Regions from separate parts of the Homo sapiens genome. Here regions 1, 2, 3, 4, 6 and 7 are each linked to region 5. Evidence: promoter capture Hi-C in 16 types of primary human blood cells and fetal thymus (Javierre and others, 2016). All regions are on one chromosome and are shown on one strand. The core of a region is centred on a gene start or on the middle of the fragment in contact, and the rest is flanking DNA. Distances in the headings are between cores, read along the strand shown.

Evidence for each region. The method cuts DNA at HindIII sites, captures the fragments that hold promoters and counts their contacts. A CHiCAGO score of 5 or more calls a contact.
Region 1: a contact is called between a fragment that was not itself captured here and the fragment with the promoter of IMMT in region 5, in 1 of 17 cell types (M2 macrophages). The highest score is 5.2, in M2 macrophages.
Region 2: a fragment that was not itself captured here is called in contact with the fragment with the promoter of IMMT in region 5 in 1 of 17 cell types (naive CD4 T cells); the score reaches 5.1 in naive CD4 T cells.
Region 3: a contact is called between a fragment that was not itself captured here and the fragment with the promoter of IMMT in region 5, in 1 of 17 cell types (naive CD4 T cells). The highest score is 5.3, in naive CD4 T cells.
Region 4: a fragment that was not itself captured here is called in contact with the fragment with the promoter of IMMT in region 5 in 1 of 17 cell types (fetal thymus); the score reaches 5.4 in fetal thymus.
Region 6: a contact is called between the fragment with the promoter of CHMP3 here and the fragment with the promoter of IMMT in region 5, in 17 of 17 cell types (total CD4 T cells, non-activated CD4 T cells, erythroblasts and 14 more). The highest score is 20.2, in total CD4 T cells.
Region 7: a contact is called between a fragment that was not itself captured here and the fragment with the promoter of IMMT in region 5, in 1 of 17 cell types (fetal thymus). The highest score is 5.0, in fetal thymus.

Annotation. Positions count from the first base shown.
Region 1 is chr2:85,699,935-85,703,622 of GRCh38, forward strand. No RefSeq gene overlaps it. Among named protein-coding and RNA genes, the nearest start is that of GNLY, 7.4 kb to the left of the region's middle. The HindIII fragment of the contact is 5,566 bases long and covers 1-3,688 here.
Region 2 is chr2:86,617,382-86,620,600 of GRCh38, forward strand. It overlaps RNF103-CHMP3 (RNF103-CHMP3 readthrough), which reads right to left. Exons shown (of 8, transcript NM_001198954.1): 3 at 2,949-3,088. The coding sequence starts at 3,080. It overlaps RNF103 (ring finger protein 103), which reads right to left. Exons shown (of 4, transcript NM_005667.4): 2 at 2,949-3,088. It overlaps CHMP3-AS1 (CHMP3 and RNF103 antisense RNA 1), which reads left to right. Exons shown (of 6, transcript NR_183901.1): 6 at 1-68. Among named protein-coding and RNA genes, the nearest start is that of RNF103, 4.9 kb to the right of the region's middle. The HindIII fragment of the contact is 653 bases long and covers 1,464-2,116 here.
Region 3 is chr2:86,525,491-86,529,053 of GRCh38, forward strand. All of the region lies in intron 5 of RNF103-CHMP3 (RNF103-CHMP3 readthrough), which reads right to left. All of the region lies in intron 3 of CHMP3 (charged multivesicular body protein 3), which reads right to left. Among named protein-coding and RNA genes, the nearest start is that of CHMP3-AS1, 35 kb to the right of the region's middle. The HindIII fragment of the contact is 977 bases long and covers 958-1,934 here.
Region 4 is chr2:85,740,980-85,744,670 of GRCh38, forward strand. No RefSeq gene overlaps it. Among named protein-coding and RNA genes, the nearest start is that of ATOH8, 11 kb to the right of the region's middle. The HindIII fragment of the contact is 1,868 bases long and covers 1,437-3,304 here.
Region 5 is chr2:86,193,812-86,197,087 of GRCh38, forward strand. IMMT (inner membrane mitochondrial protein) reads right to left here and starts at 1,651. Exons shown (of 15, transcript NM_006839.3): 1 at 1,527-1,651. The coding sequence starts at 1,571. RefSeq lists enhancers at 1,152-1,201, 1,322-1,501, 1,522-1,641. The HindIII fragment of the contact is 5,542 bases long and covers 649-3,276 here.
Region 6 is chr2:86,562,032-86,565,264 of GRCh38, forward strand. It overlaps CHMP3 (charged multivesicular body protein 3), which reads right to left and starts at 1,412. Exons shown (of 6, transcript NM_016079.4): 1 at 1,273-1,412. The coding sequence starts at 1,317. All of the region lies in intron 3 of RNF103-CHMP3 (RNF103-CHMP3 readthrough), which reads right to left. It overlaps CHMP3-AS1 (CHMP3 and RNF103 antisense RNA 1), which reads left to right and starts at 39. Exons shown (of 6, transcript NR_183901.1): 1 at 39-216; 2 at 815-889; 3 at 1,237-1,368; 4 at 1,657-1,751; 5 at 1,946-2,109. RefSeq lists enhancers at 838-1,007, 1,018-1,117, 1,275-1,569, 1,728-1,787. The HindIII fragment of the contact is 23,374 bases long and covers 1-3,233 here.
Region 7 is chr2:85,831,947-85,835,202 of GRCh38, forward strand. No RefSeq gene overlaps it. Among named protein-coding and RNA genes, the nearest start is that of MIR6071, 50 kb to the left of the region's middle. The HindIII fragment of the contact is 8,623 bases long and covers 1-3,256 here.

The DNA of each region.
Region 1 (3,688 bases), core at 1,049-3,548, 490 kb before region 5:
GACATAGTTGCAAAGTATATCCTACTAACATATTTGGTATAGTGAGTATATCATATACTAACTTGATTTTTTAAAAGTGTTTATTTATTTATTTATTTATTCTTTAGAGACAGAGTCTCACTTTGTTTCCCAGGCTGGAGTGCAGTGGCCCTTCTCAGGCATGATCTTAGCTCACTGTAGCCTCAAACTCCTGGCCTCAAGGGATACTTCCACCTAGGCCTCCAGAGTAGCTGGGACTACAGGTGTGCAGAACTGCGCCTGGCTCACTAATTTGATATTAATTAATACATTCCATTATTAGTTAACCTGACAGTGGAGAAGCCTGTCAGCTGATGAAAGTTACTCCCACCTCCCATGGGGCAAGTCAATATCATGGGCCTCATAATATAATGCTCTGAGAGAAATATAATACTACTTTTCCATTGTTCCTGCCGAAATGCAAAAATCATGAGGAAACATCAGAGCAACTCAAACTGACATTTTACAAAATACTTAGCATATCCTTTTTTTAAAAATTTTTTAAAAATTTTTTATTTTAGACTGAGTCTGGCTCTGTCACCCAGGCTGGAGTGCAGTGGCACGATCTGGGCTCACTGCAATCTCCGCCTCCTGGGTTCAAGTGATTCTCCTGCCTCAGCCTCTGAAGTAGCTTGGGATTACAGGTATGTATCACCACAGCTGGCTAATTTTGTATTTTTTATTAGAGAAGGGGTTTCACCATGTTGGCCAGGCTGGTCTCAAACTCCTGACCTCAAGTAATCTGCCTGCCTTGGCCTCTCAAAGTGCTGGGATTACAGGCGGGAGCCACTGCACTCTAGCCTGTCCTCTTCAAAAATGCCAAGGTCTTGAAAGACAAGTAAAGATTGAAGAACTGTTCCAGATAGAAGGAAACTAAAGAGACATGACAACAAATTGCGACACATGATCCTGATTTGGATCCAGACCTATAAAGAACATAATTGGGGCAATTTATAAAATGTGACTGGAATCTGTGATGGTAATATTCTGTTAATGTTAATTCCTGATTTTGATGGTTGTACTATGGTTATGTACGGCAGTGTCCTTGTTAGAAAATATACACTAAGGTATTCAAAGAGTAATAGGTCATCATATCTGCAATTACAATTTCTGAAATGATTCAGAAAAAAAGGGAATACATACGCAAAGAATGAGTGTGATAAGGTATATACCACATACATGCAATGTGGTAAGGTGTTAACAGTGGAGAATCCTGTTTAAGGGTAAATAGGGGCTCCTGTTTACACTGGGAGGTTTGGAAGGTGTAATCTCCAAACTCCATGGCAAGTTGCAAGAATGCAACTTTCAAACTTCATGTTGAAATGTGATCCCTGGCCGGGCACAGTGGCTCATGCCTGTAATCCCAGCATTTTGGGAGTCCTAGGTGGGTGGATCACCTGAGGTTGGGAGTTCAAGACCAGCCTTACCAACATGCAGAAACCCCATCGCTACTAAAAATACAAAGTTAGCCAGGCGTGGCGGCACATGCCTGTAATCCCAGCTACTCGGGAGGCTGAGGCAGGAGAATCACTTGAACCTGGGAGGCCGAGATTGCGCCATTGCGCTCCAGCCTGGGCAATGAGGACGAAACTCCATCTCAAAAAAAAAAAAAAAAAGACATGTGATCCCCAATATTGGAGGTGGGACCTAGTGGGAGGTGTATGAGTCAGGGAGGAGGATCCCTCATGAATGGCTTGGTGCCATTCTTGTGGTAATGAGTGAGTTCTTGCTCTATTAGTTTCTGTGAGAGCTGCTTGTTAAACCTCCTCTCTCTCTTTTTTCTCACTATGTGATCTCTGCACACACTTGCTCCCTTTCTCTTCTGCCATAAGTGGAAACACCTTTTTATTGAGACGGAGTCTCGCTCAGTCCCCCAGGCTGGAGTGCAGTGGCTGCTGCAACCTCTACCTCCCAGGTTCCTGGGTCCAAGTGATTCCCCTGCTGTTGAGACTATTATCATGAAGAGATGTTAAATTTTGTCAAATGATAGTTCTGTGCTATTGAGAGGATCATGTGTTTTTCATTTTTAATTTTACTGATATGATGAATTTTATTACTTGACTTTTGGTTGCTGATTTGCCTTGCATTTCTGGATAAATCTTACCTGGTCATGGTATATAATTGTTTTTATGTGTTGCAGGATTCAGCCTGCTAGAATTTTTTTTGAAAATTTTTGTATCCATATTCAAAAGAGATATTGGTCTGTAGTTTTTTTTTTTCTTTTGATGTTTTCATCTGGTTTCACCTGGTTTTGGCATCAGGGCATCCTCTTCTAGTTTTTGGAAGAGTTTCTGAAGAATTGGTATTAATTCTTTAAATATTTGGTAGAATTCACCAATGAAGACATCTGGCTTGGTATTTTCTTTGTGAGTCATTGTTTTGATGACTAATTCAACCTATTTATTATAGGTCTATTCAGATTTTCTGTTACTCTTGCATCAGTTTCAGTCATTTGTGTCTTTGTAGGAATGTGCCCATTTCATTCTAAGTTGTCTAATGCATTAGCATAATTAATTAGCATAATAGTATAATCCTTTTTCTCTCTGTAAGGTCAGTTGTAATTTCCCCTCCTTCATTTCTGATTCTAGTAATTTGCAGCATCTCTCTTTTTATTGTGGTCAATCTAACTAAAGACTTGCTTTTTCAAAGAACCAACTTTTGATTTCATCTCGTATTCTCAAATATTGTTTCTAGTCTCCATTTTAATAATTTCCACATTTCCACTCTAATTTTTTAAGTATCTCTTTTTTTCTGCTTGCTTTAGGTTTAATTTGCTCTTCTTTCTCATGTCTTTTTTTTTTTTCCATTGTAACCTTGAACTCCTGGGCTCAAGCAATCTTCCTGCCTCAGACTCCCAAGTAGCTAGGACTACAGGCACAGGCCACCATGCTCAGCTAATTTACTTTTCTTTTTTTTAGAGATAGATCTCGCTATGTTGCCCAGGCTGGGTTTGAACTCCTGGCATCAAATGATCTTCCTGCGTTGGCCTCTCAAAGTGCTGAGACTACAGATGTGAGCCACTGCACCCAGCCTTTTTCCATTGTCTTAAAATGGGATTTCTGAGACGAAGATTTCAAATCTTCCTCTTTTTCATTATAGGCATTTACAGCTACAAATTTCCCTTTTGGCACAGCTTAAGCTACAACCCGTAAGTTTTGGTGTGCTGTGGTTTCATTTTCTTTCACCTCAAGGTATTTTCTAATTTCCCTCTTGATTTTTCCTTTAATCCATTGGTTATTTAGGAGTGTGTTGTTTAATTTTCACATATTTGTGAGTTCCCCAAATTTGTTTCTGTTACTGATTATTAGTTTTATTCTGTTGTGGTCAGGGAACATATTTTGTATTCTTTCTATCCTTTTTAATTTATTGACGTTTGTTTTATGGGCTACCACATAGTCTATCCTGGAGGTGTGTTTCCCCACTGCTATCTGGACTCATCTGCACTCCACTGTTTCTGATGAGGAGGCACCTGTTAATAATTGGGGGTTCCCTTGTAAGTGATGAATTGTTTTTCTTTTGCTGCTGTCAAGATTTTCTCCCTGTATTTGGCTTTCAGCTTTTCTTTCTGTCTCTCTCTCTTTCTTTCTCCCCTTCCTTCTTCCTTTCCTTCCTTCCTTCCTTTTCTTTCTTTCTTTCCTTCCTTCCCTCCCTCCCTCCCTCCCTCCCACCT
Region 2 (3,219 bases), core at 540-3,039, 420 kb after region 5:
TACATACAATTAGATATTCGGAGAGAGAGACACCACATTTACATAAATGTTATTTCAGTATACTGTTATAATTGTTCTATTTTTATTAGTTGTTGTTGTTACTGTGCCTAACTTACACATTAAACTTTATCACAGGTATGTATGTATAGGAAAAAACATAGACTATATAGGATTTGGTACTATCCACGGTTTCAGGCATCCACTGGGGGTCTTGGAACGCATCCCCCTCAGATAAGGGGGGACTACTGTAAACAGAAAATAACAACAATTCAAATTGTTAAAAACAATTCTTGAAAGTTATCCTTTACAATAGATTAATATATATGATCTGAGCTGAAAGAATGGCAAGCAATGGAGACAATATTTCTCTTCTGTTTCTAGTAGATATTTTCAATTTTAAGCATAGTTTTAAAAAGTACAACCCTCTTTTAAGGGCTTAAACCAAGGTGGCTGTGCTGATTGGCTTAGCTGGCTAGTTCACAGTGCCAAGGACAGGGTTTCAATCTCATTCTTCTCAGTTGTCCTGCCAGAGATTGTTCTTTCAGACCAGGCCAGCCATTTGACAGATGTAAGCCACTGGCCTCAAGGAACACAAGCCAGACAGTGGTGGTCAATGCAAACCTTGAGCATCACTGGAAAAATTAAGCAGGTGTCCTACTGCATTATTTCCATACATAGAAAAACCACAGAAATACATTCTATTTTTAAAGAGTTGTTTTTCAACTATTAATACCTATAAGGTTTAAAAATATTTTCAGAGAAAAAAAATTTAGCAACTAGAATTTATAATGCTACCATTTACTATCATTATTTGTCCTTCACTTCATTTGTCACCTTACCAGAGAATTCCTTGCCACTCTCATCTCCTTAATCTGCTTATTTTTCTTCTTACTACTTTCCACTAACTGATGTTATATTAAATATTTATTTATTTGGTGTCTGCCTCTCCCAACTAGAATGTGAGCTGCCTGACAGAGCAAGGCCTTAGCTTGGTGTGTGTTTCTGGTATATCTTCAGGGCCCAGAACAGGGCCTGGCACACCCACAACTGAATAAACTTTTGATGAATTCTGTCACATATTTATTACAGGAGCTTAATTCATGGATATCTTTAACAGGACATCAAAAACAGTAGATCATTTACAAGCCAAGAACATACTGCTAACTATTGAACCAGAATGTATTTGTTGTCTATAGGCAGCAGCCTATATAGCAAAAGAACTCAAGACTTTTGACATAGCCCTTCCAAGTTTCAAAGGTGTGCAACATCTTCACCATTTATTTCCATGGGATCATTCAATGTGGGTGACATTTAGACACTGAAAGCAGGGCAGTGGGACTGGCTATTCAATTCATCCTCAGTAATAAAATCTAAAATTATCAAAACCAGTGTCTTTCTCAATCAGACTATTAGAAATAAGTACCAGAGAAAAGAAACAGAATAACAATATACTTATACATTAAAGCTTTAAAAAAGCTCCACCTTATTTTTCAACTCCAACTGACACAGAAATAAACTAAAATTTAAATAGATAATGTATAGACTACACTCATACTCTCACATTCTCTCCCATTGCTGAACTTAAAAATTACTGAATTAGATTATCCGGAAGGTAAAAGGACAAATGCAATAGGAAGGATACAATAAAGAAAGGCCATGGATGAACAATGTAAATCTCTGGAAGAATTCCCAAACCTCAACCCTTTAGCACAGTGGACTACAGTACCATTTTATCCTTTTTAGATGTATATGTATTTATTTGAGGCCACGTGCAACAGAAAAATATACCTATTTACAATCATACTGCTAGTCAGTGACAGTACCAGACCTGTAACAGCGACAGTACCAGACCTGCAACTAATGTCTCTGAACTCATAGCTTTTCCTACCATATTTTGCAGTCTTTACTCTCAGAAAGAAATATGAAGAAACTGTTTTAATTTTCATGCCCTGAATCAAACTTTGCCCACTCCAGTGTGAAATGATAAGAGTACCAGTCAAGAAATCAGAAGACCTGGGTTTCATCCTGGTTCAATACTACCAACTAGTTCCATGACCTTGGGCAAGCTACTTCACCTCTCAGAGTCTCAGAAAGGGTTAGTCTGATATAATTTCCAAGCTTCAGCCATTCACAGACTACATTAATAATTTTAGCCACATTCACGCTGTTAATTTACTTGATATGTCACTTTGAATGTACAGTTTTAAAATGTAAATAACTTTAGTCCTGTCCTAAGCAAAATTTATGAAATTTATGTTAATATAATTTTTCTAATTTACATTAAAATATGTAAATGATAATGCATGCCCACTCACCATAAATTACATCTTGGAAAGCATAAAATATTTTTAAGGTCCATCATAGCTCTAAAATTCTAATATGCTAATTAAGTCTCACAGTTTTGCTATCATAAAAACAAGGGTTAAAAATTATAATCTCATCATCCTGAGTTACGTAATGAGCACCCCCACCATTTTCCACAACAGCTCCTCTATAGTCACAAAGTTGGCTATTTCCCTAATACAATGATTCCTTTACTTTTACTTTAGGGTTCTTACTTATATATAAAAATTACTCAGGCCACTGAATTAAAAACTGGAGATAATAAAAACTAAGAGAAACAGTGCAAATCACTAAATAAAAGGGATATATATGTGTATTTCTCAATTCAACAAAGGTCCAATAACTAAAATAGATTTGCTTCTGGGGATTCTAAACAAAAAGTTGACCCCCATCCCCCATCTTTCTCTTTCCCACTACTCAATTTTCATCTTCCTCAGTCTCCAAAACCTTTTTAAGAAGATACTGGAGCCTCCCTAAGAGAACTGAGTTATGTGTGAGAAACAAGACACAAGGACACGGAAGTGTCACTGGCTGGTACATACTATTTTGGTAAAAATAATTTTTTTAGGGCTCTCGAATTATCAAATTATTACTGCTTTTCATACCTGAACCAGCCAGATGCCATCTTTTGTGTCTTCCACAAGCTCATAGAAGTGCATTTCACCACTGAAATTGGTACTAGAAACCGATTCGGATGCTTCTTCTTCCTTGAGAGCAGAATAGAGCTCACCCTCCATCAAGTCACCTGAAGAAAGGAAAAGAATAACACTAATAAGGTTGCAAGAATCCTAGATTCCCAATTTCAGTAATTCTATTTTTTACACTGTTAAGAATCATGATATTGTACTTTCATTGTATTTTATAGACAAGAACTAC
Region 3 (3,563 bases), core at 196-2,695, 330 kb after region 5:
CCACTGCACTCCAGCCTGGGCGACAGTGCGAGATCTTGTCTCAAAAAAAAAAAAAAAAACTACTTAAAATCCTTGCATCAGATGGGATTCCCTCGGCAAGGACATTTACACAGTAAGTTGGGTTTTGCTCTTTTCACACTGGATTGCCACAGTGAAATTTGACACCAAACCTCATAAACAAAAATGCAAATGGGGGATTCAAGTCTCATGAAACTCATCAATTATAAGGTAACCCAGAGTATACATATGTTTAATTTTTTAATGATGCCAAAAATTAAAATAAAAAAAAATTCTCATAGTAGAAAGACTGGAAGAAGACAAAGTGGTGGGAGAAGGAAAATCAAGATTTTTTTATATCAATTTTGAGATACCCCTTGAGACATCTGAGTGGAGATGCCAATTACGCACTTAGAGATAAAGTCAGCCCTGAAGATAAAACTCAATGGCATTTAAAGGCATGGGGTTAGATAAGATCGACTACTGGGAGTAAAGATGGAAAGGAGCAGAGGATCTAGAATAGAGCCCTCGAGCACCTTAACATTCAGAGGCCAAAGAGCAAATACTTTACTTTTCAATTCTGGTAAAGCTACAGTATATATGAAATGAACAACTTAACATATTGTTATGGGTGTACATTTAAACGATAGGCTCTTATGTGCAGTGCACAGGGAAGCTTTTGTTATGTATACTGCTGAAAGTGTATGATAAAAGAGTTTTTGCATGCAGACTAATGATTACTTACTATGACGATAACTGGCTGAAAAGGTATTTTGGAATCAGGACACAGGAAGAAAGGGCAAAGAAAAGAGAATGCTCGAGTTTAGTAGCTCTGAGAGAACTATTAACACAAGATAACATTTCTCAAAAATAAAAAAGTCTGACAATACCAAGTCAAAAAGGTGAAAAGGTATGGAAAAAAAGAACTCATGAACTGCTGCTGGAAATATAAATTAGTAAAGCTTCTTTGGAGAGCAATTTTGTAATTCTAGCAAAATTTAAACCCAGCTACTTACTTAGCAATTCTACTTCTGAGTATACAACTGTCCTAAACCTTTACACACAGCAAAAACTGAAAATAACCTTAATATCCATCAAAAGGGGAACAGAAAAATAAAATGTGATACATCAATGTAATTTCATCTAGTAGTTCAAATCAATGGACTAGAGCATGCTCTCTCTCTCTCTCTCTCTCTATATATATATACACATACACATAGATAATTTTATTGTGGTTGCTGTTGTTTTGTTTTGTCTTGTTTTATAGAGACAGGGTTTCATTATGTTTCCCAGGCTGGTTTTGAACTCCTGGCTCAAGTGATCCTCCTGCCACAGCCTCCCAAAGGGCTGGCATTACAGGTATGAGCCACTGCACCCTGCCTACATTTATCCACATGAACATATTTCAAAAACGATGATAAATGGAGCAAAAAGACGCAGAATGGTATCTATAGTATGATACCATTCATAAAAATTTTAAGATTCATGATAGTGGCTTTCTCTGGAGAGGTTGGGAGAGAAGAGAATGAAACTGGGAAGGTGTATTAAAGGAGCTTCAACTTTTGTAATAATGCTTTTTTTATATATATATAATATAGAAGCAGGCAAATACAACAAAACGTTAAATTGTATTAGTTCTGGGCCAGGTGCAGCGGCTCACAACTATAATCCCAGCACTTTGGAAGACTGAGGCAGTGGATCACTTGAGCTCAGCAGTTCAAGACCATCCTGGGCAACATGGTAAAACCCCGTCTCTACCAAAAAAAAAAAAGATAAATTTTATTAGTTCTGTATAATAGGTACATAAAGACTTATTACATTATCCTCTGCTTTCATCTCTACAATTGGAAAAAAAAGAGGCTGTGCATACACTGCTTTATTCATAGAGGGAAAAAGGCAAAATAAGCAATAAGGAAAGAGTGAAAAATGTTTAAACAAGCTTATCATGGTCAACTGAACATGTGTCTTTTGAGCATGTTGCAGGAAAAATTGAGAATCAATCTGAATTTTTCAAGCTGGCTATAAAAGACAATAATACTTGAGCTTTCAACATGACAGGATTAAACTATTTCTTTATGGCACTGATACTCAGTTTGATCAAAAGGCATATCTAGGTGATATATCCAGTATTTCAAGAGCCTAAAATCATCATTTTAGGGCTGTAATAACATGGCATTTAAAAGTGAAGATAGGCCGGAAGTGGTGGCTCATGCCTGTAATCCCAGCACTTTGCAGAGCCGAGGAAGGTAGATCACCTGAGGTCAGGAGTTTGAGACCAGCCTGGGTAACATGGCGAAACCCCGTCTCTACTAAAAATACAAAAATTAGCTGGGAGTAGTGGTGGGCACCTGTAATCCCAGCTACTTGGGAGGGTGAGGCGGGCGAATCGCTTGAGCCTGGGAGGCGCAGATTGCATTTAGCCGAGATCACACCACTGCACTCCAGCCTGGGTGACAGAGAAAGACTCTATCTCAAAAAAACAAAAATAAATAAATAAAAGATAATCTTGATAGATTTTTTAAAGGATGATGTGGTACAAACATTTTGTCATTTTTTTTTTACTCTTTCCCAGCCCATGATTATTCTCTTCAGTATCTCGAGAAAGAAACTAATGATACATTCATGGTTAGGCATATTTTAAAACCACATTCGAATGTTAAAATTGAATGTGAAGAAAATACCTTCAGAACGAAATACAACCAAATAATGCATTAGAAACCCATTTGGCACCATCCTATAAATTAAAACACTTCATCTTCTAACTTCTTTTGAGTGTGATCAATGAAGTATCTGACAGAGAGTTGAAAATATTCTTCAGTGAAAAATTTCTCCATAATTTATTTCTTTTTTAGACACAGTCTTGCTATATTTATTGTCCAGGCTCAGGCACAGTGGTTATTCACAGGTGTAATCAGAGCTCACTGTGGCCTCAAACCCCTGGGCTCAAGCACTTAATTCTCCTTGCTCAGCCTCCTGAGCAGCTGGGACTACAACTGCATGCCACCATGCCTGGCTCTCCATGATTTCTGAGTCTGTATTCAATCTAAATATCTGACAGTCACTTGCTGCCATTACCAAAGAACTATAGTTCTGAGTTAGGACTACTTCATAATTTAATGGAAATTAAGAAAAGAAACCAACTAGATGAACGACCACAAACAGTACTGTACTGGACACTGAAAGGAAACAATGTTTATTCCTATTTTAAATATCATGAGTTCCTAAAAGTCATCTAAAATGGAGAGTTCACATGTATGCTGAATACCCATCACGTGGTCTACAGATTCCTAAGATGTGAGGAAGCATTAGGTAGGCAGAGATGAAGCAGAAAAGGAGGTGAACCAAAGCCCCACAGCCTGTTGTAACATTTTGCCTGGGGCTGCTCTGGACCTAGGACAAAGGTAGAAAGCTCTTTTCTTCATCCTCCCTCCAAACATCTAGGCTGGCCTCTTACTCCTACAACTCAATTCTCAGGCCACGTGATAACACTGTTCAATACATTCTAACTTCTAAACAAAGCAGATTTATATGTAGATTTCATTACTATTTAGAAAATACTAACAAAA
Region 4 (3,691 bases), core at 1,121-3,620, 450 kb before region 5:
GGATTCTTCAACCTGAATGTGCAGGAGAATCCCATGGCTGGCCATCTAAAGTTCAGCTCCTCAGTGGCCCAATCACATGGGTTCTGATCCAGCAGGTAGAAAGAATGGAAGAAAGGTACATTTTATTACATACTCCAGGTGATTAGGACACAGGCGGTCCTGCCATCGCCCTCTGGGGGACACTGGATCTTCCTTCTTGGACTGTGTACCTTCCTGCTCCAGAGCCCCTGACCATCAAGCTGAGCACCGACAGCCACTGCAGACTCCATCAGGCCCTCTCTCTGGGATCTCTTCGGTACTGCCAGCTCCCTTAAAGGTGCCAGGCTCTTCCCTGTATGGAGAAGCTGGCACCATAGAGAAGCGACCCAGCCACACAGGTCCTGGTGCCAGCTCTGAGCTGCCTGCTCTCGTCCTGTCTCACGGCTTCCCAAGCTGACGGACCTGCCTGGCTTCTCATGTGACTGCCCACTCACTCCTGGCCTGATGCTTGACAACACGTCTGGGACTCTCCTGGGCCAAGGACCCTACATCTCAGCCCAGGTCCCGCATGCTCTCTCAGTCCTGGGATCCCTGTCTCCTTTCCCATGCCACCTCCCAGCATCCTTGTTCCTGGGCAGGAGGTGCTTTGCAGCCCTGCTCCTCAGCTCTGTGACCCAGCCAGATTGGTGGCCAACTGCCCTCACTCTGGGGTCAGCTAACCACCTCTCTGTCCTCCTCCTCACCCTGCCACCTCACCTAGTCCCTTCCACCTCCATGGACTTCCCCTGGGGCCTCCCTCCCCACATCACAACCCTCCTTTGCTGAGATGAGCCCCACATCCCATGAGCTCATCCTTTCTTAGCAATGCTCCTCGGACCACCTCTTCCCCATGGACTGAGCCCCAGCTGGGGGCTGACCTTCGGCATCAAACGCCTGGCCCTTGACTCACAGCTCCCCTGTTCTGACACCCGGCCTTTGCCTGACCCCATGGGCAGGCCTGGGCGCCAGCCTTGCCCCCCCTGGCTGGCCCGTCCCCCTGCCGCCTGAGCCTGGGTTATGACATCTTTCCACTGAGCAGCTCTTATTTTGAGAAGGCAAACACGGCGGCGCCCACAGGCATGTGCACACGCCAGCACACGCACACACATACCCTGTCCATCCCCGGACTCCTCGCGCACTGGGGTTAAAATGTGGCTGGCCATGTTTATTTTTCTTCCTCTAATTTCCCCTTTGGAACAAACAACAGTCCTGTAACCCCGATCACCCTCCCCTTTCAGATCTGTGGTCTCCCACCACCCTTCTCCCGGGTCCTCCCCTCGCAGCTGTGAATGAGAACAGAGTAAGTCTTTTAGCGGGAGGCAGCAGCCTGAATGAATTGATCACAGCCTCAAAGCCAGCAGGATGGGGGGATGGTGAGCATGTGTGTTTGCTTCTTAAACGCTATTTGTACACCCTGAAGCTTCTATTTTTCCATGTGACTTGGAGCAAATGCCTTCCCCCAGCCCTCCATCCTTTTAAAATTTATTTCATTTCATTTTTGGTCCAATGCATTTTGTTTTCTGTTTTCTACAAGGGAGCCCGAATCAGGGCCTCAGAAAAACAAGGCCGAGCTGCCAACTGGAAATGTTTGCTCTGGGGGCGAGTTCGGAGGCTGGCGTCAGGCGGGGCAAGATCCGTGCCAGTGGAATGTGATTTGGGGAGGAAGCTGCAGGTCACTCAATCGCTGGCAGCCAGCCCGGGAGCAACTGGATGCTTTCTGGGCTGTGTGTGTGTGTGTGTGTGTGTGTGTGTGTGTGTGTGTGTGTGTATGTAGAGTTTTTTCCCTCATGCAAACAGAGCTCTGGAGACATGGAGACAGAAGCATTAGGAACAAATGAGACAGGGGGTTGGAAAATCAGGGGATCTGGGGGAATAAGGTGGGCTGGGGCGGGGAGAGGGTGCCAGGAGCTTGAGCAGCCATGTTATTCAGCATGTGCTGTGTGTTCAGCTCTGAGCTGGGAGCCTGCAGGAGCAAGGAGGGCTGCAAACCACATCAGCCCCCAGTGATCTGTGGGTTCTTTGGAGAAACAAGGCTTTCAGTATAGAACACTGGCAGGTGAGCCTGGAAGTTCCCAAGAGCGGAGTGTGTTCCTCTGGGCTGAGTGTGTCCAGGGAAGGCTTCCTGAAGGAGGTGTGGTAGGATCAGAGCCCTGAAGCATGTATGGTACTGCACTGAGAGGAGAGGAGAGACGTTCAAGGTGCAGTTATTAGCTGCCATCTGCCAAGCCCTGTGCTCAGCCCTTTACATTGATAATCTCCCTTTAATCCTCACAACAACCCTATGAGGGCCAGTAATCTTTCTATCCTAGCTTTGCAAACAAGGAAACTGAGGCCCGGTGAGATCAAGGAACTCAGCCAAACTCCCAGCTTGTAGGTGGTGAGCCAAGGGTCAATTCGGGACCATCCTTGTCCAAAGCCTGGGCTCTGTCCACCACCGCTGAGGGCCACTTTTCACTTAGCCGAGTTCCTTGTGGAAGGGCTTGTTTTCCCTGCCCCACTCAAAAGAGGATTGTTGAATTCAAGATGGGGAATGTTGGGGACCTAAGATGCCAGGGTAGACTTCCAGGGGGCAGTGTGACAAACGCTCCGAAGCCAGAGAGATAAACTACCTTGTTTCCTTGTTCCCAGGAGGTAGTGGCTGGGCCCCTTGGCAGTCCCCCCAGGGTTCATATCAGGTCAGCCCTCTCCTGCAGCCTACCCCCCTTACCAATGACCCACGCCACCCTCACACTCCCCCACACACCCCCATCACATGTCAAGTTCTTTGCCACCCCAAAGTGAAGGTCCGCCCACTTCCAGGAGTCCTCAGAAGTTATCTGTGTTGTTCTGAGTCACGCACGAAACTCAGTGAACCAGACAGAATGGATTTTCCCCAGGCAGCCACCACAACCCTGGAGTTGGAATCAGGAGACCTGAGCCAACTGAGTGGGGGGCAATTGGTTAAAGTCAACAGTCTACCTCCTGTGTGATATCAAGTGAGCCATGTCCATTCTTGAGCCTCAGTTTCCTCAGTTTTAAAATGAGGAGTGGCCTGAATGGTTTTTGAGCTGTCACAGATGGAAGGAGAGGCTCTAAGGCAGTGGAACTATCTGCAGGTGTTGGAAGGGTCAGTCAGGAAGACTTTCTCGAGGTGTTCAGCCCACTGCAGAAGGATTCTCTGGCAGAGGAAGCAGGATCTGTCACGGGCTCAAAAGGGGAAAGGAAAGAAGCCAGGCTGGAAGGGCAGGAGGAGATGATGGTGAGGGAGGTAGAGTCCTGGCCAGGGTGGCTAGAACACCTTGACTCAAGCTTGTCTGGTAGTAATCAGACGGCCAGTGATCCATCTGATTAGAACAACTTTGTTGACCACTTGGGAGTTCTATTGTCTTGAGCTCAGATAGTTGGTTAGCCTCCCCCATGAACTCTTTTTGGCCAAACTGAGCACTAACGTTAGGTAGACACTGGCTTGGGGCTTACCTGGGCCTGATACATCACCTACATTGGTTGAACTGACCAGTCGATTCCACGAGACAACTAATTTTACCGATTATTTCCAGGAAACAGGCAGTTTATAGCATTAACTAAAATCAGCAGTTGTTCTGGCTTTTTGGAGACAGTCTTTGGATCTGACATCTTCAGTCCTCAGAGACATTCAGGCTACCTGCCACTGACCAACAGTAGTCAGATTCCTGAG
Region 5 (3,276 bases), core at 401-2,900:
GGGTTCATTTTTTATTACCAAGTTTTAATTAGTTTTCTTAATTCCCAAATGGGATCCCAAAAAGTTGACTCTGAATTAACTGAAAAGGAGGTCATCCAGGTGGGCCTGGTCTAATCACATAAGCCTTTTAAATCTGGGTCTAGAGAGGAAAGACCAAAGTAAAAGAAATTTGGAAGTCAGAGAGGCAAGCTCCTGGTAGCCTGCACGAAAGCAAACATCAATGTTATGAATGGCCTCTAGAGGCCTTGAGGCAAGGAACTGTAGGCAGGCTGTAGAAGCTGGGAGCAGTGGCTGGCAAGAGGCAGCAAGAAAAGAAGTACTTCAGTCCTGTAACTGCAAGGGACTGAATTCTGCCAACAAACTGCATGAGCCTGGAAGAGGACCCTGATCTCCAAATGAGAACCACAGCATGGCTAATACTTTGCAGCCTTATGTGACCTGGAGCGGAGAACACAGATCATCCGTGCCCAGACTTCTATCCTACAGAACCCGTAAGGTCATTCATGGGTGTTGTTTTAAGCTGCTAAATTTGTGGTATTTGTTACGCAGCAATAGAAAACTAACACAGGTTCGTTCCACTTTCCTATGGAAGGGGCTGCTTCTGTTACCTAGCAGCAAATAGGAAGAGAAGCGAACTTGAAAAAACAAAGCTTGACTTTTATGATCTCTAACTCACTATTCCTAGGGATTCTGTTCAATTACTGCTTGAGTCACAGTACTTGGTTTGCTATCTACATTTTGCCAAAATATCAACTTCCTGAAAATCATGAGCAGTGGAAACAGGCTTTTTAATTTTCAATTTTAGAAAGTAACTTTGGCAATTACGCAAAACTAGAAGTAACTGGGTATTTAGGCTCCTTGAATGTCAAAGTAGTCCCAGCGCCTGGAGACACAGATCCCTGCCCTAATCTCAGAAATGAGCCACAAGGTCATGACTCCTGTCTTTCCTTGAAGACCAGGAGTTTCAGCTCCACAAATGAAAATCTTTCGCTTTTGTTTGGATTAAGAATAACTCAGAAGTGTTCTCAGCTGCGAAAAGAAAGGCACTCCCTCCCAGATAATTACAACCTTGACCCCTAAAATGTGGACTCTCGCTAGAAGTCCAGGCACCTCCTTATTAAGGATGCAACAAGCCGCCGCTCCGCTCGTCCTGACGGGAACTGTAGTTCTCGCCCGTCGACCTTCAGCACTGAAAACCTATCGCGCGCCCAACCGGCGACCCAGACGCCAGCAGCCAGGATTGGTCCTGGACGGGGGCAGCGCGGCCCTGATTGGACTACATGCCCACGAAGCCGCGCCTCCCGCTACTCTCCACACCCCACCCCGCTGCTGCAATAACCTCAAGTCATCCCAGTCCGGCGAACTCCCTGGTGGCTGCCTAGCTGCCCGCCCGGGCCTCTCCCGACGAGGGTGGCCCTGAGGCTCGCCTTTGTCCTGGAGGCTAGGCAGCGACCAAGGCTCCCCCGTTTTTCGCTGACGGTTCTAGTTCAGCCTCCTCACGCGCCTCCGGGAGCCCCAGTGCTCACCTGGGCGGCGGCGGTCACACCCGATAACTGACAGGCCCGCAGCATCTCGGTCAAGCGGACGGCGCTGCTGGTGGACTCGAGCTGCCGCGGCGGCGCGAGTTAAGTGGAGGCGTGCTTGCGTGTGTGCGTGCCCGCGTCCGCGCCCGGCGCACCGGAAGCACAGCGGACGCCACTGCGCACGCGCGGCCCCTTCTACCGTCCCCGACTCCGCGGCTCTTAGAGGGTGGGCTGTGTCCCGGCTGCGGAAACGCCAACTCCAGGCGATTGGCGCGAAGGAGGCGAAAAGGGCGGATTCCCTTTCCGGGTCGCGCCCGGGCTGCAGGTCCTTATCCGGAAGGGGTTACTAGGTGAACACTGCCGGAGGGAGAGCGCTCTGAAATCCATTCTTCAGCCGCACGTGGAAAATGGACAGCTGTGACTCTTAAAGAGAATTAAAGCAACAAAGCATCTCAGCCTGCTCTATGAGCTGGATATTTCGTAGGAAGGAGCCGATTTGGCGAAAGTTACGTAAACAATGGAATTGTCTCAGTTTGCGCCTTTGTTTCGTTTGACAGCCCTCCAGGGAGTCATAGTGATTGCTGGAGACGGTGAACTAACACTGTGGGGACCCTTGTGCTAAACGTGTCAAGTGGCACAACAAGGATAGGAACACGGGTCCTTTGGACTCCACAGCTTCTGCTCCTTCCAGATTAAGCCACACTGCTTTCTCCAAGTTGTTACTGTAGTAACATCATTTTGGCTGCAGTTTGTGGATGGGTTGGAAGATGGGAAGTCAATGCAGAAGCACCGTTGAAAGTATTCCACTGGGCAGGGCGCGGTGGCTCACGCTTGTAATCCCAGTACTTCGGGAGGCCGAAGCGGGAGGATCGCTTGAGCCCAGAGGTTCGATACCAGGCTGGGCAACACAGTGAGACCTCGTCTCTATATAGAAAAATAAACAAACAAAAAATTTAAAAAGAAAAGTAGGGCCAGGAGCTATGACTCACGCCTGTAATCCCAGCACTTTGGGAGGCCAAGGCGGGTGGATCGCCTGAGGTCAGGAATTCGAGACCAGCCTGGCCAAAATAGTGAAACCCCGTCTTTACTAAAAATACAAAAAATTAGCTGGGCATGGTGGCGGGTGCCTGTAATCCCAGCTACTCGGGAGGCTGAGGCAGGAGAATTGCTTGAGCCCGGGAGGCGGAGGTTGCAGTGAGCCGAGATCACGCCATTGCACTCCAGCCTGGGCAACAAGAGCGAAACTCTGTCTCAAAAAACAAAAGTATTCCATTGATTCTGTAATCAAAATAAAACACGTTAAATATTAAGCATGGTATTAATACTCCATGTATACTCCAGAATTAATATGTTCGTATTAATACTATTAGCATCTTATTGCAATATCGTGGAAACTAACTTTTCTATCTTCTATTGGATTTGCAAAGTATTCCAAGTCTTAACTGGGTAATTTATTACAATATGTATTCTCTCTAGAGGTAGACTGCGCTATGACTTGTAGCATGGAGAGATGGACTTGAAAATTATCTGAAAGCAATAGTTATGTTTGTATATGTTCTATGTTCTATGGTTTTTAGGGGACTACAGTAATTACATATGTTTCATATCTCTTTCACTTAGCTTCCAGAGCAGTCTCCCGTTTTCTTTAGTAATTTTAGCAATTGAATTGCTGCCTCCCTGCCCACTGCTGTCATGCCCAGTGGTGCCGGTGTGATGACTTTTCTAACACCCTTGTCTTTGAACTTCTTAATGC
Region 6 (3,233 bases), core at 162-2,661, 370 kb after region 5:
CAAAGTGATGTTATACCGTTATTTCATTTAAGCGCCACAATTTTTATTTTACCAAGGAGCAAAACTGAGTAAGTTTCCTGACGAAAATAATGAGTGTCTACTGTTCTAGGGCCTTTAACAACAACAACAACAAATTTACATTAACGCACATTATGTGCCAGGAATTGCAAGATGCATAAGATTAGTTTTTAAAATGTGCCTGCTAGAGCTGAACAGGTAAGATCATTTATTAAAGGATTTCAGGATTTTTTTTTTCCATTATGGACAAGCCTAGGTGTTGCAGAGCAGTGCTTCTCAAAGCACTGATGTGCACACTAATCATTAGGGAGCTTGTCAGAATTCAAAATCTGACTCAGTGGGTCTGGAGTGGTGTCCGAGATTTAACAAGCTCCCAGGTGATGTTGATGCTGCTGGTTGGCATTTGAGTAGCAAAGCTGTGCCGTATTTAAAGAATTAGCCCTAACTACCAATATGAAAACTTTACATCCCTGAATCTTCAATTACTCTGAGGTGACACTACTATTATTCTGGCTTCACAGTCGAGAAGGCACTGAGAAGTGAACTTTCCAGAGATCACAGAGCTGAGATGTGGGAAGGCAGGATTCAAACTTAGGTTGACTGACTGCAGGGCATTTTCAACTGTTTGCCTCCCAATATTATCTCAATTAATAGGTAACGAGAGTTCGAAGCCGGGTCCAGAGCTATCTTCTGTAACATTCTTCTGGGTCGAGTCCCTGCCCCGCTACGGTATGTGCCTAGGGTCAACACAAGGGCTGGGGAAAGAGGAAACTGAGCCTCTTTTTCAACACAACAGGGAGGACGGAGAACAGACGGCTCCTCCGGCAGACGCGACCCGGCCCGCTCCAAACAACGCTTCGGGCAGGAGAAGGTTCTCCGGGTGGTCCGCAGCCGGGCTGGAGGGGTGGGGCCTACGCTGGGAAAAGGTTCCGGGCGGGTCGTACCAACGCGCGCAGGGGGAAGAGGTTTCCGAGGCCAGGACGGTGTCGCTGCCTACGCGCTCAGTGGCGAGGTGGAGAAACTCTTCATCCACCCTCGGCTACCTGTTCGAGAGCCATGGCACCAGGAGCTCTCGCGTCCCACAGCCGACTCCTAAAGACTCTTCCTCCGGCCCCCCTGTCGAGTGGGAGTCCCCGGAAATGGGGGCCGGGCGGTATCGGGCAGGCGGTGGGGAGAAGAGTGTCCTGTCATTTACCAACTTCACTACGCCCCACACAGATCCACCCGCTTATCTGCCGCCGCCGTAGCCCTTACCAGTTCTTTGGGCGGCTTCTCCTGGGTCTTTCCAAACAGCCCCATGACGAACTGAACCCGTCTTGCCCCTTCCGGCTTTCAGTTCCCCGCGCCCAGGCAGGTCACGGGCAGCCGCCTGGGCGGGGCCCGCGGAAAAGGAGGTAGTCCCAACCCCCAGAGTAGGGAGCGGCGGCACTAGGGGATGTTGCGCATGCGCCATACGCCTGCGCAGAATCGAGTGAGTGGGAGACTAGTCAAAAAGGCTGACGTCATCGCACATGTTCTGGTCATGTCTGTGTGGGGGAGACCACGGATTCGGTGCTTTTCGTAAGGTGTAGAAATGATTGCTCTGAAAGATACGAATTTGTTGGCTACAACTGCTTCTAATACTTCACCTAAACCTAGATGTTGCACCAGAAGTCTGGATCTCCACGCAGACGTGTACACTTAGCATCACTTTCCCGACAGCTTCATCTTTGTGTCCAGTAGGCAACTCACAGGTGACAAACCAAAAATAACCTCTTTTTCCTCCCGCCAACCCACTCCTCCCCTCTGCTTGCACCACCATCACCTGGTCACTAAACCCTAGGCATCGTCCTCTCTCCCCTCTTACCAAGTCCCAACCATTCTAACTTCAATATGTCTGAACTTCAACCCTCCCCTTTCCATCCCAACTGCGGTCGTTTTTTTTCAGGCCATCGCCCTTTCCAGCGTGGGCGATTCCTGCCTAGCATTTGTCCATGTGTGTCCCGTCCTACACGCCACACTGACCGTGAGCTTAATCACACTCTCAAAGGAATCTGACTAAAGAGAACTAGACACATTTTAGCACGGACAGTTCCTGATTAGGCCTATACGGTGAGCTGATGGTTACTGTCATTAACTCATCCGAGGATGGTGAAGGGGACCATTTGTTACCTCAGCCCCATACTCCTGTCTCTGGTGGAATCATAAAATGGTTCGGCAGCTTTGAAAACATTTTGACAATTTCTTAAAATGCTAAACAAAGCCAGCCTTCCATTCCTAGCTATTTACCCAAGAGGGAAAAAAGCATATGTTCTTACAAAGACTTGTACACAAATGTTCATAGCAGCTCTATTTGTAATAGCCATAAACTGGAAACAATCCAAATGTCTATCAACAAGTGAATGGATAAACCAGTCGTGATTGATCCATACGAAGGAATAGTACTGAGCAATAAAAAAGTAAACTATTGATAAATGCAACAGCATGGATGAATCTCAAAATAATTCTGCCAAGTGAAAGAAGCCAGAACCGTATGATTCCATTTACATAACATTCTGGAAAATGCAAACTAATACATAGTGACAGAGAGTACATGGGCGGTTGCTAGCGGATAGGAGTGGGGTCAGAAAGAGGCAGAAAAGAGGGATTACAAAGAGACACGAAGTTTAGGGGGATGATGGATAATATCTTGATTGTGATGATGGTTTCACAGATGTATACAATATCAAAACTTACCAGGTTGGACACTAAGTATGTGCGATTTATTTTATGTCCAATCATACTTCAATAAAGTTGTTTTTAAAAAAGCACTGCCTGTTCATTGTGAAAAGTTAAACCCTCATTCTCACTTCCTCAGGGGAAAAGGTCTCAAAGGATTCACACCAACTATTAAATATAGTGTGAATCTTCTGAAACCTTTTCCTTTGGAAAATATACTTTTATTTTTATTTATGTATTTGTTTTTGAGACCGGGTATCACTTTGTCACCCAGGCTGGAGTGCAGTGGCAGGATCTTGCCTCACTGCAGCCTCTACCTCCCAGATTCAAGTGATCCTCCCACCTTAGCCTCCTGAGTAGCTGGGTGTCAGCCACCACGCCCACTGTGTTTTTAATTTTTCTGTAGAGACAAGGGTTAGCCATGTTGCCCAGGCGGGTCTCAAACTCCTGGGCTCAAGCGATCCTCCCACCTCAGCCTCTCAAAGTGTTGGGATTACAGGTGTTAGCCACCTTGCCCG
Region 7 (3,256 bases), core at 755-3,254, 360 kb before region 5:
TTTTTTTGAGACAGAGTCTCACTGTGTCACCCAGGCTAGAGTGCAGTGGAGGGATCTCCCCTCACTGCAACCTCTGCCTCCCAGGTCCCAAAGTGATAGGGTTAGAATGTAGCCAAAACGAAGTGATCCATGGTTTTAGAAATCTTTAACAGGCTGGGCATGGTGGCTGACACCTGTAACCCCAACACTTTGGGAGGCTGAAGCAGGAGGATTGCTTGAGTCCAGGAGTTCAAGACCTGCCTGAGCAACATAGTGATACCCCCATTTCTACAAAAAACTAAAAATTAGCTGGGTGTGGTGGTGCACACCTGTAGTCCTAGCTACACAGGAGGCTGTGGTGGGAGGATTGCTTGAGCCCAGGAGTTTGAGGCCAGCCTGCACAGCATGGTGAGACTCTGTCTCTACACAAAATAATTTGCTGGGCACAGCAGTGCCTGTAGTCCCAGCTACTTGGGAGGCTGAGGGAGGAGGATTGCTTGAGCCCAAGCATTCGAGCCTGCAGTGAGCTATGATAGTTTTCAAGATACTAGAAAAGTAAAAGAAAAGAAACTAAAAAAAGGAAAAGAAGAAAAAACTCACTAATGTGCAAAAAGAAAATATTTGAAGGTTTAAAACCCACTGGTAAAATTAAATACATGGATAAACCCAGTATTACTTTAATACTGTAATTGTGGTATATAATCCACATCATAACTATGGTATACAAATCTATCTATCTAGTATAAAGCCCCAAATACAAATCTATCAAAAACAATAATAGTTATAGCAACCTATTAAGAGATAGGGAATATCGGCCAGGTGTGGTGGCTCACGCCTGTAATCGCAGCACTTTGGGAGGCCGAGGTGGGCAGATTACGAGATCAGGAGATCGAGACCATCCTGGCTAACATGGTGAAACCCCATCTCTACTAAAAATCCCAAAAATTAGCTGGGCGTGGTGGCAGGCACCTGTAGTCCCAGCTACTTAGGAGGCTGAGCCAGAAGAATGGTGAGAACCCAGGAGTTGGAGCTTGCAGTGAGCCAAGATTGCACCACTGCACTCTGGCCTGGGTGACAGAGCAAGACTCTGTCTCAAAAAAAAAAATTAAAAAAAAAAAGGGAGATAGGGAATATAAAGATATATAAATTGAGATAATATAAAGCCAAAATGTGGGGAGGATGAAGTTAAAGTGTAGAGGTTTTTTCAGTTTTTTGTTTTTACATTTTTCTTTGTTTCTATTTTCTGTGTGATCTATGCTGCCATCTCTTTAAAATAACTTGTTGTATCTGTAAGATTTTTTTGGTAAGCCTGATGGTAACCACAATGCAAAAATCTATAATAGATTCACTAAAAATAAAAAGCAATGCGTTAAAACATACTATCAGAGAAAATCACTTACCACAAAGGAAGACAGTAAGAAAGGAAGAGAGGAGTTACAAAACAACCAGAAAACAAGCAACAAAATGGCAGTAGTAAGTCCTTACCTATCAACAAAAACACTGAATGTAAATGGACTCAGTTCTCCAATTAAAAGACATAGAATGGCTAAATGGATAAAGAAATAAGACCTGACTATATGCTGCCTACAAGAAGATCATTTCACTTCTAACGTGAAGGGATGGAAAAAGATATTCTATGTAATTGGAAACCAAAAAAGAGCAGGAGTAAGTAGCTGATATAAGTAAGTACTTACATCAGATAAAACAGACTACAGATCAAAGACTGTAAAAAGAGACAAAGAAGATCACTAATGATAAAGGGAATAATTCAGCAGGAGGAAATATGTATCAATATCTATGTACTGAACAACAGAGCTCTCAAGTATATAATGCGAACATTAACAAATCTAAAGGGAGAGATAGACTGCAATACAATAATAGTAGGGGACTTCAACATGCTACTATATGTGATGGACAGGTCATCCAGACAGAAAATCAAGAAACACTGGAGTTAAACTACACACCAGATCAAATTAGGCCTGACACTTACAGAACATTTTACCCAACTGCTGCAGAATACACATTTTCTTCATCAGCACATGGAACATTCTCCAAAACAGACTGTATATTAGGCCACAAAACAAGTCTCAACAAATGCAAAAAAGTAGAAATCATATCAAGTATATTTTCTGATCACAATGGAATAAAACTAGAAATAACAAGGGGGGCCTTGGGAAATACACAAACACATGGAAATTAACACACTCCTGAATGACCTAGGGCCAATAAGGAAATTAAGAAAATTTTAAAAATTTCTGGAAACAAATGAAAATGGAAAATGACATATCAAAATGTGTAGAATACAACAAAAATAGTACTAAGAGGGAATTTTATAGCAATAAATGCCTGTAACAAAAAAGTAGAAAGACTTCAAATAAACAACCTAATGATGTACCTCAAAAAACTAGAAAAGAACAAACTAAACTCAAAATTAGAAGAAAAGATATAAAATTCAGAGCAGCAATAAATGGAGACTAAAAAATAAAGAAAATCAATGAAATGAAAAGGTTTTTTTTTTTTGGCAAAAACTAAATTGACAAACCTTTAGCTAGATTAACTAAGAGAGAAGACTCAAATAAATAAAATTGTAAATGAAACAGGAGACATAACAACTGATGCCACAGACATACAAAAAATCATTAGAAGCTGTTATGAACAACTACATGCCAACAAGTTGGAAAACCTAGAACAAATGGGCAAATTCCTGGACACATACAACCTACCAAGATTGAAACCATGAAGAAATAGAAAATTTCAACAAACCACTAATGAGTCATGAGATTGAAGCCATAATAAAATGTCTCCCATCAAAGAAAAGTCTAGGACCTGATTGCATTATTGCTGAATTCTACCAAACATTTAAAGAAGAATGATGACCAATTCCATTCAAATGCTTCATAAAAATTGAAGAGAAGGGAATATTTCCAAACTCATTCTATAAGGCTTGCATTACCCTGATACCAAACCAGACAAAGACACAACCAAAAAAGAGAACTATAGGCCAATATCACTGATGAACATAGATGCAAAAATCCTCAAAAAAATACTAGCAAATGGAATTCAACAACACATTAAAAAGATAATTCATCATGATCAAATAGGATTCATCCTAGGGATGCAAGGATGGTTCAACATACAAATCAATAAACACAATATATCGCATTAAGAGAACCAAGAACAAGAACGATATGATTATTTCAATAGATGCTGAAAAAGCATTCAATAAATTAAACATGCCTTTATAAGAAAAAAACCTTCAACAAACTAGGTATAGAAG